Linked DNA regions of Homo sapiens: regions 1, 2 and 4 are each linked to region 3. Evidence: promoter capture Hi-C in human tissues and cell types (Jung and others, 2019). All regions are on one chromosome and are shown on one strand. The core of a region is centred on a gene start or on the middle of the fragment in contact, and the rest is flanking DNA. Distances in the headings are between cores, read along the strand shown.

Evidence for each region. The method cuts DNA at HindIII sites, captures the fragments that hold promoters and counts their contacts. A contact is called where the count stands out against the background at its distance.
Region 1: a contact is called between a fragment that was not itself captured here and the fragment with the promoter of SLC30A5 in region 3, in 2 of the 25 tissues and cell types used here (IMR-90 fibroblasts and stomach).
Region 2: a fragment that was not itself captured here is called in contact with the fragment with the promoter of SLC30A5 in region 3 in 1 of the 25 tissues and cell types used here (hippocampus).
Region 4: a contact is called between a fragment that was not itself captured here and the fragment with the promoter of SLC30A5 in region 3, in 1 of the 25 tissues and cell types used here (lymphoblastoid cells).

The regions. Positions count from the first base shown.
Region 1 is chr5:69,382,880-69,385,579 of GRCh38, forward strand. It overlaps RAD17 (RAD17 checkpoint clamp loader component), which reads left to right. Exons shown (of 19, transcript NM_133338.3): 8 at 1,918-2,054. Among named protein-coding and RNA genes, the nearest start is that of RAD17, 14 kb to the left of the region's middle. The HindIII fragment of the contact is 4,917 bases long and covers 1-2,700 here.
Region 2 is chr5:69,364,145-69,366,844 of GRCh38, forward strand. AK6 (adenylate kinase 6) reads right to left here. Exons shown (of 5, transcript NM_016283.5): 2 at 2,359-2,451. It overlaps TAF9 (TATA-box binding protein associated factor 9), which reads right to left. Exons shown (of 3, transcript NM_003187.5): 2 at 2,359-2,451; 3 at 599-1,610. The coding sequence starts at 1,593. The coding sequence ends at 799. Among named protein-coding and RNA genes, the nearest start is that of AK6, 4.0 kb to the right of the region's middle. The HindIII fragment of the contact is 3,949 bases long and covers 1-2,700 here.
Region 3 is chr5:69,092,627-69,095,326 of GRCh38, forward strand. It overlaps SLC30A5 (solute carrier family 30 member 5), which reads left to right and starts at 1,388. Exons shown (of 16, transcript NM_022902.5): 1 at 1,388-1,712. The coding sequence starts at 1,630. RefSeq lists silencers at 1,101-1,210, 1,541-1,830, 1,876-2,170 and an enhancer at 1,311-1,410. The HindIII fragment of the contact is 15,344 bases long and covers 1-2,700 here.
Region 4 is chr5:69,446,292-69,448,991 of GRCh38, forward strand. No RefSeq gene overlaps it. Among named protein-coding and RNA genes, the nearest start is that of MARVELD2, 33 kb to the left of the region's middle. The HindIII fragment of the contact is 6,025 bases long and covers 1-2,700 here.

The DNA.
Region 1 (2,700 bases), core at 92-2,591, 290 kb after region 3:
CTCAAGCTATTCTCATGCCTCAGCCTCCTGAGTAGCTGGGATTAGAGGCATGTGCCACCACACCCAGCTAGTTTTTGTATTTTTAGTAGAGATGGGGTTTTGCCATGTTAGCCAGTCTGGTCTCGAACTCCTGGCCTCAAGTGATCCACCTGCCTCTGCCTCCCAAAGTGCTGGGATTATAGGCGTGAGCTACCATGCGTGGCAATAGTACCAATTTAAAGATGTAATACGTTATAAGTTCATGCATATGCTTATGTACCTTAGCACTATCATTTTTATCTTTCATAGTTTTTCATATTGCAACTCCAGGTGGTGAAACTAGGGATAGCCAAATCTCCTAGGCCATTTTGAAGGGAAAAGGGTTCTGTAGAAGGATAATTTTAATGTGGAGTGTTCCTCAAAATCCCTTCTCTGGACTCTTCTTTAATGTACTCCCTTGTGCTACTAGTATCCCATCCTGCTGGGGCTTTTACTGTTTTCTTTTCTTTATTATTATTATTACTATTATTATTATTTTTTTTTTGAGATGGAGTCTTGCTCTGTCACCCAGGCTGGAGTGCAGTGGTTTGTCTCACTGCAAGCTCCGCCTCCTGGGTTCAAGCAATTCTCCTGACTCAGCCTCCCAAGTAGCTGGGATTACAGGCGTCCACCACCATGCCCGGCTTATTTTTGTATTTTTTAGTAGAGATGGGGTTTCACCACGTTGGTCAGGTTGTTTTCGAACCCCTGACCTCAGGTGATCCAACCACCTCGGCCTCCAAAAGTGCTGGGATTACAGGCGTGAGCCACCACGCCCGGCCCATTATTATTATCATTTTTTTAAGAGAGAAAGTCTCACTATATTGTCTAGAATGAACTTCTTAAGCATTTAAGGGATTCTCACGACCCAACCTCTGGGGTAGCTGGGACTACAGACGTGTGTTCCTGCATCTGGCTTTTACTGCTTTCTAAATAGTAGCATTACTTTTGACAGTCTGATAAGCTTTAACTTAAACAGTCTTCAATATGAAACATGCCTTCAGAGAGCTTCCCTCATTCTCAAGTTCACTAATCAGTTATTCTGTTTTTGTTGTTAAACCTTTATCACTCCAGCCTGACCAACATGGAGAAACCCCGTCTCTACTAAAAATTCAATAATTAGCCAGGCGTGGTGGTGTGTTCCTGTAATCCCAGCTACTCAGGAGGCTGAGGCAGGAGAATTGCTTGAACCTGGGAGGTGGAGGTTGCAGTGAGCCAAGATTGCGCCACTGCACTCCAGCCTGGGCGACAGAGCAAGATTCCGTCTCAAAACAAACAAACCAAACCCTTATCACTGAAGGTAATTCATTTATAGGCTTGAACTCATTTAGAGATTCTTCATTGGGTAGGCCACAGTCATAGATATTTTTACCAATTATATGAATGTTATACCGACAGCTGTGTTCTTAGGTCAGTTAACTCCATATTACACAGGGTCTCACTCTGTCACCCAGGCTGGAGTGCAGTGACACAATCTTGGCTCACTGCAACCTCCACCTCCTGGGCTCAAGCTATTACCCCCACCCTCTGCCTCAGCCCTGCAAGTAGCCAGAACTACAGGCACAAGCCTCCACACCTGGCTAATTTGTGTATTTTTTTGTAGAGACCGGGTTTCACCATGTTGCCCAGGTTGCTCTTGAATTCCTGAGGTCAAGCGATCCACCTGCCTCGGCCTCCCAAAGTGCTGGGATTACAGGCGTGAGCCACTGTGCCTGGCTACATGTTGACTCTTGTCCTTTGAAAGGAATATCCTATTTTAAATTTAAATGATTTTTCCTAATTGGGAAATAGTCTACAGTATTGTGAGATGCATCAAGTATGTGTGTGTGTACATACAGATGTATAATATTAATGTATATCATTTGTTGAAAATAAAAGTGGTTATGTGTTTCCTTTCAGAATCAAGCTTCCATATGTTTCCCTATCAGTCTCAGATAGCAGTTTTCAAAGAGTTTCTACTAAGAGCGACAAAGTATAACAAGTTACAAATGCTTGGAGATGATCTGAGAACTGATAAGAAGATAATTCTGGTTGAAGTAAGGACAACTTTTAAAATCTTTTTTTTTTTTTTTTTGAAATGGAGTCTTGCTGTGTCACTGTCACCCAGGCTGGAGTGCAGTGGCGCGATCTCAGCTCATTGCAAGCTCTGCCTCCCAGGTTCACGCCATTCTCCTGCCTCAGCCTCCGGAGTAGCTGGGACTACAGGCGCCCGCCACCACGCCCGGCTAATTTTTTGTATTTTTTAGTAGAGACGGGGTTTCACTGTGTTAGCCAGGATGGTCTCGATCTCCTGACCTCATGATATGCCCACCGTGGCCTCCCAAAGTGCTGGGATTACAGGCGTGAGCCACCATGCCTGGCCTAAAATCTTTTTTTTTTTTTTTTTTTTGAGACAGAGTCTCTCTTTAACCCCTAGGCTGGAGTGCAGTGGTGCAGTCTTGGCTCACTGCCACCTCCGCCTCCTGGGTTGAAACAATTCTCATGCCTCAGCCTCCCCCGAGTAGTGGGGATTACAGGAACCTGCCACCATGCCGGCCTAATTTTTGTATATTTAGTAGAGATGGAGTTTTGCCACGTTGGCCAGGCTGGTCTCAAACTCCTGACCTCAAGGTAATCCTCCCGCCTTGGCCTCCCGAGTGCTGGGATTACACATGTGAGCCACCACACCCAGCCAACTTTTAA
Region 2 (2,700 bases), core at 201-2,700, 270 kb after region 3:
CTAGGTTTTAGAAACTATAACCTTGATAAATTGACGTTCTTTTGGACAAAAAAATATTTTAAATTAAAAAAAATATATATATATATAAACACTATAACCTAATTATCAGCCCTGGATCAAAAATGAACATGATACTGGCTTATAGTATCAGGAATATGAAAAACAAAGATGCTCAAAATTAACCTGCAAAAAGAGACACTTATAAATTTTTTTTTAAAAAGTGGAGACATACTGGGAGACACTAAGGGTCCTTAATATAACCAAAAGGACAGAAAAATGGGACCTAGGAAGTTGGGCAATTGAGGAAGATAATCAAAGCAGGTTAAGAATTCACTATGAATAAAAATCCTGACCAACTGGTCTCTCCAAAGGGGAGTCATGGTTATACTTCAGCAATCTGAGAGAACAGATCACAAGAGTGACGTACACACCAGAGATCATACTATGATCTATGTATCTGAAGACGTTTAAGGTGACACTCTAGTGGTCAAAAATAGACTGCAGTACTGCAAATTGCTGCAACTGCCAACTGTTACTCCTCTTGGTGACAACAAGGAGAAAATTGCTTTTAAAAACATAACTGCCAAAGCACCAACAATCGAATGAATGACAACTTTATTTTTCTTACACTTTTAAGGCTGATGAAAAACCTTCATTTCAATTGAAAAGTATGGTAACTGTGTTTACTCATTATTATTAGTTTTCTAAAACACAACTTGAAAACATCCAGCATGCATGTTTAATATCAGTACAATGAATTCAAGACCAAGTATACATGTTACATTCAGCAAGGCTAGATTACAGATTATCATAGTCATCATCATCATCATCGTCATCATCATCATCTTCACGTTTTCTTTTCAATGCATTTGATGATTCATTGGCAGTATTTTGTGATGACATCATATTAGTGGTAATAAGAATGTTTTTGGACCCGATTAATGATGGATTAATCAGAACATTCTGAACTGCTGAGGTTGCAGGAATTGAAGCTTTTACAGCTGGAGACTGAGAAGTAGGCATCTGTACTGTAAACCTTTGACCTGTGAGGGACATGGGAGTCCCTACTTTAGTTGAAACAGACATGGTCTGTGGGGTTGGTGTGCCTAGTGTGGGAGTACTTGGTCTGCTAGTAACTGAACCAACACTTAACCGCGGGACTGTTATTCTTCCCGCAGAAGTTGATGCCTTTTTCTGTAAAGATTTCAGCCTATAGTTTGGAGCTGTTAAGCAGTATCTATCAGGTGGCAACCTAGGACCTGAATATGGCTTGATCAATGGCAAAGGGGTTTGATTTCTTTGCCTTGCAATATCTAATAAAAAATCTCTTGGGGGAGGAGAGGTAAAAGACTGATCAGCGCGGCACTGGATTGCCAATCGCACATCATCTGCATCAACAGTAGCTTTCTTAGCATGGCTTGAATAAATTTTTGCATCATCTAGAATTGTGGTCACATATCGGAAGGCAAACTCCAACATCTGATTTATAACTCTTGGCTCATATTCTGTAATCCCCATATCCTTCAGGATTTGTGCCATCATCTGTGCATCTTTCGGCATGCTCTTGGGAGAAGCCGTCTTGCCAGACTCCATGATATCCGATGATCAGACTTTAGATCATTTGAAAAAAATATGTACATTAGATCAATCTGAAATAGTTACTTTAGTAGCAACTGTCAGGAACTTAAAAAAATTTTAAATCTATGTTAAACTGTAAAAAAATTTTTAAAATTTAAACCATATGTTTTCTTAATTTTAATGAGGCAACTTAAGGTCGCTTTAATTTATTGAGTTCCTACCATGTACAAATCATTGTCGACTATAAAAAGATGAAGACACAAATAAGGGAGCGATGAAAGATTAGGGGAAAACAGGGTAAAATAAATAAAAACAATGATCATCTTAGAATATATGCAGTTGCATGCAAATCTCACACTAATCTAAGATACCATAGCATAGTCAGGTCCCACACCTGAGCTCAAAACAGTCTCTTTCCAGTGAGACCAATATACTCACTGTGCTCATATATATGTTTAGCAGTACCAAACCTTTGTTTGTTCAACTTAAAAACATTCTCCTTATTCACATTCTACCTATCCGAAATCCAGTCTCTTTATAGGAGCCTTCCCAACTATTCACAAGAATTGCCAGCCATTTTGAAGGCGGAAGGGAAAATGGTCAAAATAACCAGGACATAGCATTAGACACTTAATATTTCTGTGGATTCCCTAACAGAGTATATATTCTTTAATGGCAATCTCTGTTTTTTGTACCCTATGACAATACCCAGCACTAACACTCCACTTACCAGACCTTAAAAAAAAAACAAAACAAATCTAACACCAAAGTGTCCCTTACCTTCTCGAGCTAAATCACCCACATTAATGTATTTCAGTCCTGATTTTGACGCAAGTTCTTTGCCTAGTGTGGTTTTTCCAACCCCTGGTGTACCTGTAAGACAAGCCACAGAAAAATACTGTTTGTGAAATACTACTTATCACACTGCGGTCCACCTTCTGCCTTTCCTTTTATTTTTGAGACAGAGTCTCACCTGGCCTCTGCCCTTAAAAGTTCTTGACGACTGAAATGAAAAATTTCCTAATTAGCAATCATATGTAAAATTTTTTTTTTGAGACAGAGTTTCACTCTTGTCGCCCAGGCTGGAGTGCAGTGGCACAATCTTGGCTCACTGCAACCTCC
Region 3 (2,700 bases), core at 138-2,637:
GTTTGCAGCAACACTTAACAAAATCCTCTTCCTTCTCCTATGTTCTGTCCTCACACAGTTGGATTCCAGGGCCTCTAGCAACAACGGTTACCAGTACTCCAGGCCCCACACAAAAAGCCACAAAAGCAGTCACCTTCCTCCGTTACTTTATTTGATAGATGACCCCAGGCTCCCTGTGGCAAAGAAGAATCCTTTCTTTTTCTTTCTTTTTTTTTTTTTTTCCAGAGACGGTCTTGCTCTGTTGCCCAGGCTGGAGCACAGTAGCATGATCATGCCTTATTGCAACCTTGACCTCCCACGTTCAAGCGATCCTTCCGCCTCTCCCTCCTGAGTGGCTGGGACCACAGGCATATGCCACGCCTGGCTAATTGTTTTTGTATTTTTGATAGAGACAGGGTTTTGCCATGTTGCCCAGGATAAGAATGTTTCTTTAGAAATCTGGAAATTGCCTTTAGGTTCCCTTAGGAGTAGGAGAGAAGGCCATGAAGTTTCGCACGTGGTCACTCCTAGAAAATTGCCCTGGGATAGTTTGCTGAGGAGGCAAATTTTGGTCAATACTAGTTTCTCCTCTCCAAAGTCCATCAAAGGCATTGTTCAAAAGAAATGGCCGTACCACTATTTGTAATTGATTCTCTACAGCTTCAAAAATAGTTATCTCTGGTTGGGGGAAGGGCACGTGAACTTTTAAGACTTCGGGCCTTCTCATCACAAAAATGATCCATACTCACAAAAACTTAGAGGCAGAGGGTATGTTAACCTAGATTAAGAATCTCTAGGCCGAGTGCGGTGGCTCACTCCTGTAATCGCAGCACTTTGGGAGGCCGAGGTGGGTGGATCACCTGAGGTCAGGAGTTCGAGACCAGCCTGACCAACATGGAGAAACCCCGTCTCTACTAAAAATACAAAATTAGCCAGGTGTGGTGGCACATGCCTGTAATCCCAGCTACTTGGGAGACTGAGGCAGGAGAATCGCTTGAACCTGGGAGGTGGAAGTTGCCGTGAGCCGAGATCGCGCCATTGCACTCCAGCCTGGGCAACAGGAGCGAAACTCCATCTCAAAACAAAAAAAAAAAGAATCCCTAACGCAGAGGAAAAGATTGGTGAGCTTTGTTTAATCACACACGCTGTACATTTTCCACGCCCTCCCCCTCTGCCCTACAGGAATCCGCTGTACTTCTGACGGCCCATAGGTGGCACTGTAGGGACAGGTAAGTGCACAGGGAGCGCCACCCGGAGAGGCTGATAGGAGGCGGAGCTTCAATGCGACACAACGTGGCGGGAGGAGCCTAAGGGACGAGGAAAGGCGAGTGTTCTGCTTGCGCAGACGCAAGGCTGGGCACTCCCCCGGGAGTGAGGGTTGCTGGGCCTGATGACGTGGCTTGGCAACGTCCCTACCGCCGCTGCTTCCCGGGAACCTGGCGCCGCCGGAACTGATCGCGGCCTAGTCCCGACGCGTGTGTGCTAGTGAGCCGGAGCCGGCGACGGCGGCAGTGGCGGCCCGGCCTGCAGGAGCCCGACGGGGTCTCTGCCATGGGGGAGTGACGCGCCTGCACCCGCTGTTCCGCGGCAGCGGCGAGACATGAGGAGACCCCGCGACAGGGGCAGCGGCGGCGGCTCGTGAGCCCCGGGATGGAGGAGAAATACGGCGGGGACGTGCTGGCCGGCCCCGGCGGCGGCGGCGGCCTTGGGCCGGTGGACGTACCCAGCGCTCGGTAAGGGACCGATCCGGAAGGCAGCGACCGGCCGGGTCGCTCAGGATGCACTTTCTCCGGCCTCCCTCCGGTCTCCGCTGACAGCCCGGGACGTCCCGGGGTCGGCGCGCCCTCTCCCCCTGCCTGCCTCCCTGCGCGCAGGCTGCCTCCGGGCTCCCCGGGCTCTTCGGGTGCCTGCTGCAGAAGGAAGGCGCTAAAGCCAAAAAGCTTCTGCTTGAATTTCTGGGTTACAAGGCAGACAGTCAGTCTTAGAACTGCCCGCCAGTTCACGTGAGAGGTTTTTCTGATCTGTGAGAAGCCTTTCTCTTGGCTGTTTCTCCCTGAAATAGTCTGGCGACTACTTAACCTTTCTGACGTTTCCCTGCATAAATTAGGGGAAGGTGTCACCATCAGCTCTCTTCAGGCGACGAAACCAAAGTACATACGTGAACTTGGATGTTCAGGGGAACTTGGATGTTCAGATTAACTGAGCACATCGAGGGTCCAGCCCCGTTTTCTTTTTTTATTTTGTTCTTAAATAAGAAATGTGTCCTCGTTGTCAAAAAAAAATCTAAACAGCAAAGCAATTCATAGAGTAAAAAGTGAAAATTCCCACTTCCTCTCTTCAATTCTCCCACCAACCCGAAAAGTAAGGGACCAACAGGTGCAGCGACCACTTTCTAGTGTATCCTTCCTAAGTTCTGAGATAGTGTCGAAAATGCACAAAATACAGCCCTGCAATTTGGCTGGAACTGGTGTTCTTTGCCTCCATTTTTAACGAGTTCTTCCCATTCTGGAATAAATACTTCTTTGATATTTAAAGAAAGTGATAAATGTGATAAATTCTTTAGAACTGTAGTAATAGCATTATAACGTAACTTTTTTTTTTTTTTTTTTTTTTGAGACGGAGTTTCGCTCTTGTTCCCAGGCTGGAGTGCAATGGCGCGATCTCGGCTCACGACAACCTCCGCTTCCCGGGTTCAAAAGATTCTCCTGCCTCAGCCTCCCG
Region 4 (2,700 bases), core at 124-2,623, 350 kb after region 3:
GTGCTGGGATTACAGGCATGAGCCACCATGCCCGGCTGCTTTCAATGGGTTTTTAAAGGAGAGTATGACAGACCTGCTCGAGCATGTAATAGACTACTTGTCCTATAATAGACAAACTGGGGATAGGCAGAAGGCAGGAGGGATGGTTTAGCCCCGCAGAAGGCGAAGAAGGTGAACTTCTGAGCTCATCACAACCAAGACTCCATTTCTTACTATGTGGCCTTGACAAATTAACATCTCCAACCATCAGCCTCCTTAACTGTGATGTGGCGATAATACCACCTGACGAAATTGTTGTGAAAATTAAATAATGTAAAACACCACGAAGATACTTGCTCAATAACTGGTGGCTAGATACTCAAAATATACTTTTCATTGTGTTAAATAATAAGGTGGCTATAGACTATCAAAATGACTTCTTTTGAATAATAAAAGTTATAAAAAGCTTTTTTAAAAAGTATATAGGTAATATATTTATTATAGAAAATTGATTAGGTCAGGGGTGGTGGCTCATGCCAGTAACCCCAGCCCTTTAGGAGGCTGATGTGGGTGGATCACTTGAAGCCAGGAGTTTGAGAACAGCCTGGCCAACATGGCAAAAACCCTTCTCTGCTGAAAATACAAAAATTAGCTGGGCGTGTTGTCGCACACTGTAGTCCCTGGAGGTAGTCCCGGGAGGCTGAGGCACGAGAACCGCTTGAACCTCAGAGGTGGAGGTTGCAGTGAGCTGAGATCGTGCCACTGCACCCCAGCCTGGGCGACAGAGCAAGACTCTGTCTCAGAAAAAAAAAAAAAAAAGTACAAAAATTAGCCTGGTGTGGTGGTGCACGCCTGTAATCTCAGCTACTCGAGAGGTTGAGGCATGAGAATTGCTTGACCCCAGGAGGTGGAGGTTGCAGTTAGCTGAGACCATGCCACTGCACTGCAGCCTGGGTGACAGAGTAAGACTCTGCAGAAGGAAGGGAAGGGAAGGGAGGGGAGGGGAGGGGAGGGGAGGGGAGGGGGAAAGAGAAAGAAGAAAGAGAAAGAAGGAAGGAGAGAAAGAGAGAGGAAGGGAGGGAGGGAGGGAAAGAGAAAAGAAAGAGAAAGAAGAAAAGAAAGAAGAAAGAAAAAGAAGAAAAGAAGGAAGGAAGGGAAGAGAGAGAGAGAGAAAGGAAGGAAGGAAGGAAAGAAAGAAGAGAGGCCAGGTGCGGTGACTCACGCCTGTAATCCCAGTACTTTGGGAGGCTGAGGCAGGCGGATCAAGAGGTCAGGAGATCGAGACTGTTCTGGCTAACATGGTGAAACCGCGTCTCCACTAAAAATACAAAAAATTTAGCTGGGCTTGGTTGCGGGCACTTGTAGTCCCAGCTACTCGGGAGGCTGAGGCAGGAGAATGGCGTGAACCCGGGAGGCGGAGCTTGTAGTGAGCCGAGATCGCGCCACCACACTTCAACCTGGGCAACAGAGCAAGACTCAGTCTCGGAAAAAAAAAAAAAAAAAGAAAGTTATTTTGAAACTCCAACCTCTGATGATAGAATTCAGAATAGGGGTTACCTGTGAGAGAGGTTTATTGGCTGGGAAGGAGCATGAGGGAGCTTTCTGGGTACTATACCTTCATCTGGTTCGTTGCTTACCAGGATATATACATATTTAAAAATCCATCAAGCTAAGCATTTAAAATTGGTGCCTTTTACTGTACATATATTATACATGTATTTTACCTCAATTTTTTTTCTTTTTTAAGACGGAGTCTCTCTCTGTTGCCCAGGCTGGAGTGCAGTGGCGCAATCTCGCCTCACTGCAACCTCCACCTCCAGAGTTCAAGTGACTCTCCTGCCTCAGCCTCCCGAGTAGGTGGGATCACAGGTGTGAGCCACCACGCCCAGCTAATTTTTGTATTTTTAGTAGTGACGGGGTTTCACCATGTTGGTCAGGCTGATCTCGAATTCCTAGCCTCAAGTGATCCACCCACCTCGGCCTCCCAAAGTGCTGGGATTACAAGTGTGAACCACTGCGCCTGGACAGGGTCTTGCTCTGTCTCCCAAGCTGGAGTGCAGTGATGTGATCTCAACTCACTGCAACCTCTGCTTTCCAGGCTCAAGCAGCCCTCCAGCCTCAGACTCCGGAGCAGCTGGGCAGCTGGGACCACAGGAGCAAGCTACCACGCCCAGCTAATTTTTTTTTTTAAGAGATGGGGTTTCCATGTTGCCCAGGCTGGTATATCTCAAATTTTTTTTTTTTTTTTGAGACGGAGTTTTGCACTGTTGCCAGGGCTGGAGTGCAATGGTACGATCTCAGTTCACTACAACCTCTGCCTCCCAGGTTCAAGCGATTCTCCTGCCTCAGCCTCCCGAGTAGCTGGGATTACAGGCGCCTGCCACCATGCCCGGCTAATTTTTTGTATTTTTAGTAGAGACGGGGTTTCACTATGTTGGCCAGGCTGGTCTCGAAGTCCTGACCTCCAGATCTGCCCGCCTTGGCCTCCCAAGTGCTGGGATTACAGGCGTGAGCCACCGTGCTTGGCCCTCAATTTCTAACAATTATACTGTATACATGTTTGAACAAAAGTATGTTCACAGTTTTTTTTTAAGTAATGTTGTTGTTGTTGTTGTTGTTGTTTTGAGACACTGTCTCACTCCCTCGCCTGGGCTGGAGTGCAGTAGTGTGATCTCGGCCCACTGCAACCTCTGCCTCCTGCGTTCAAGTGATTCTCCTGCC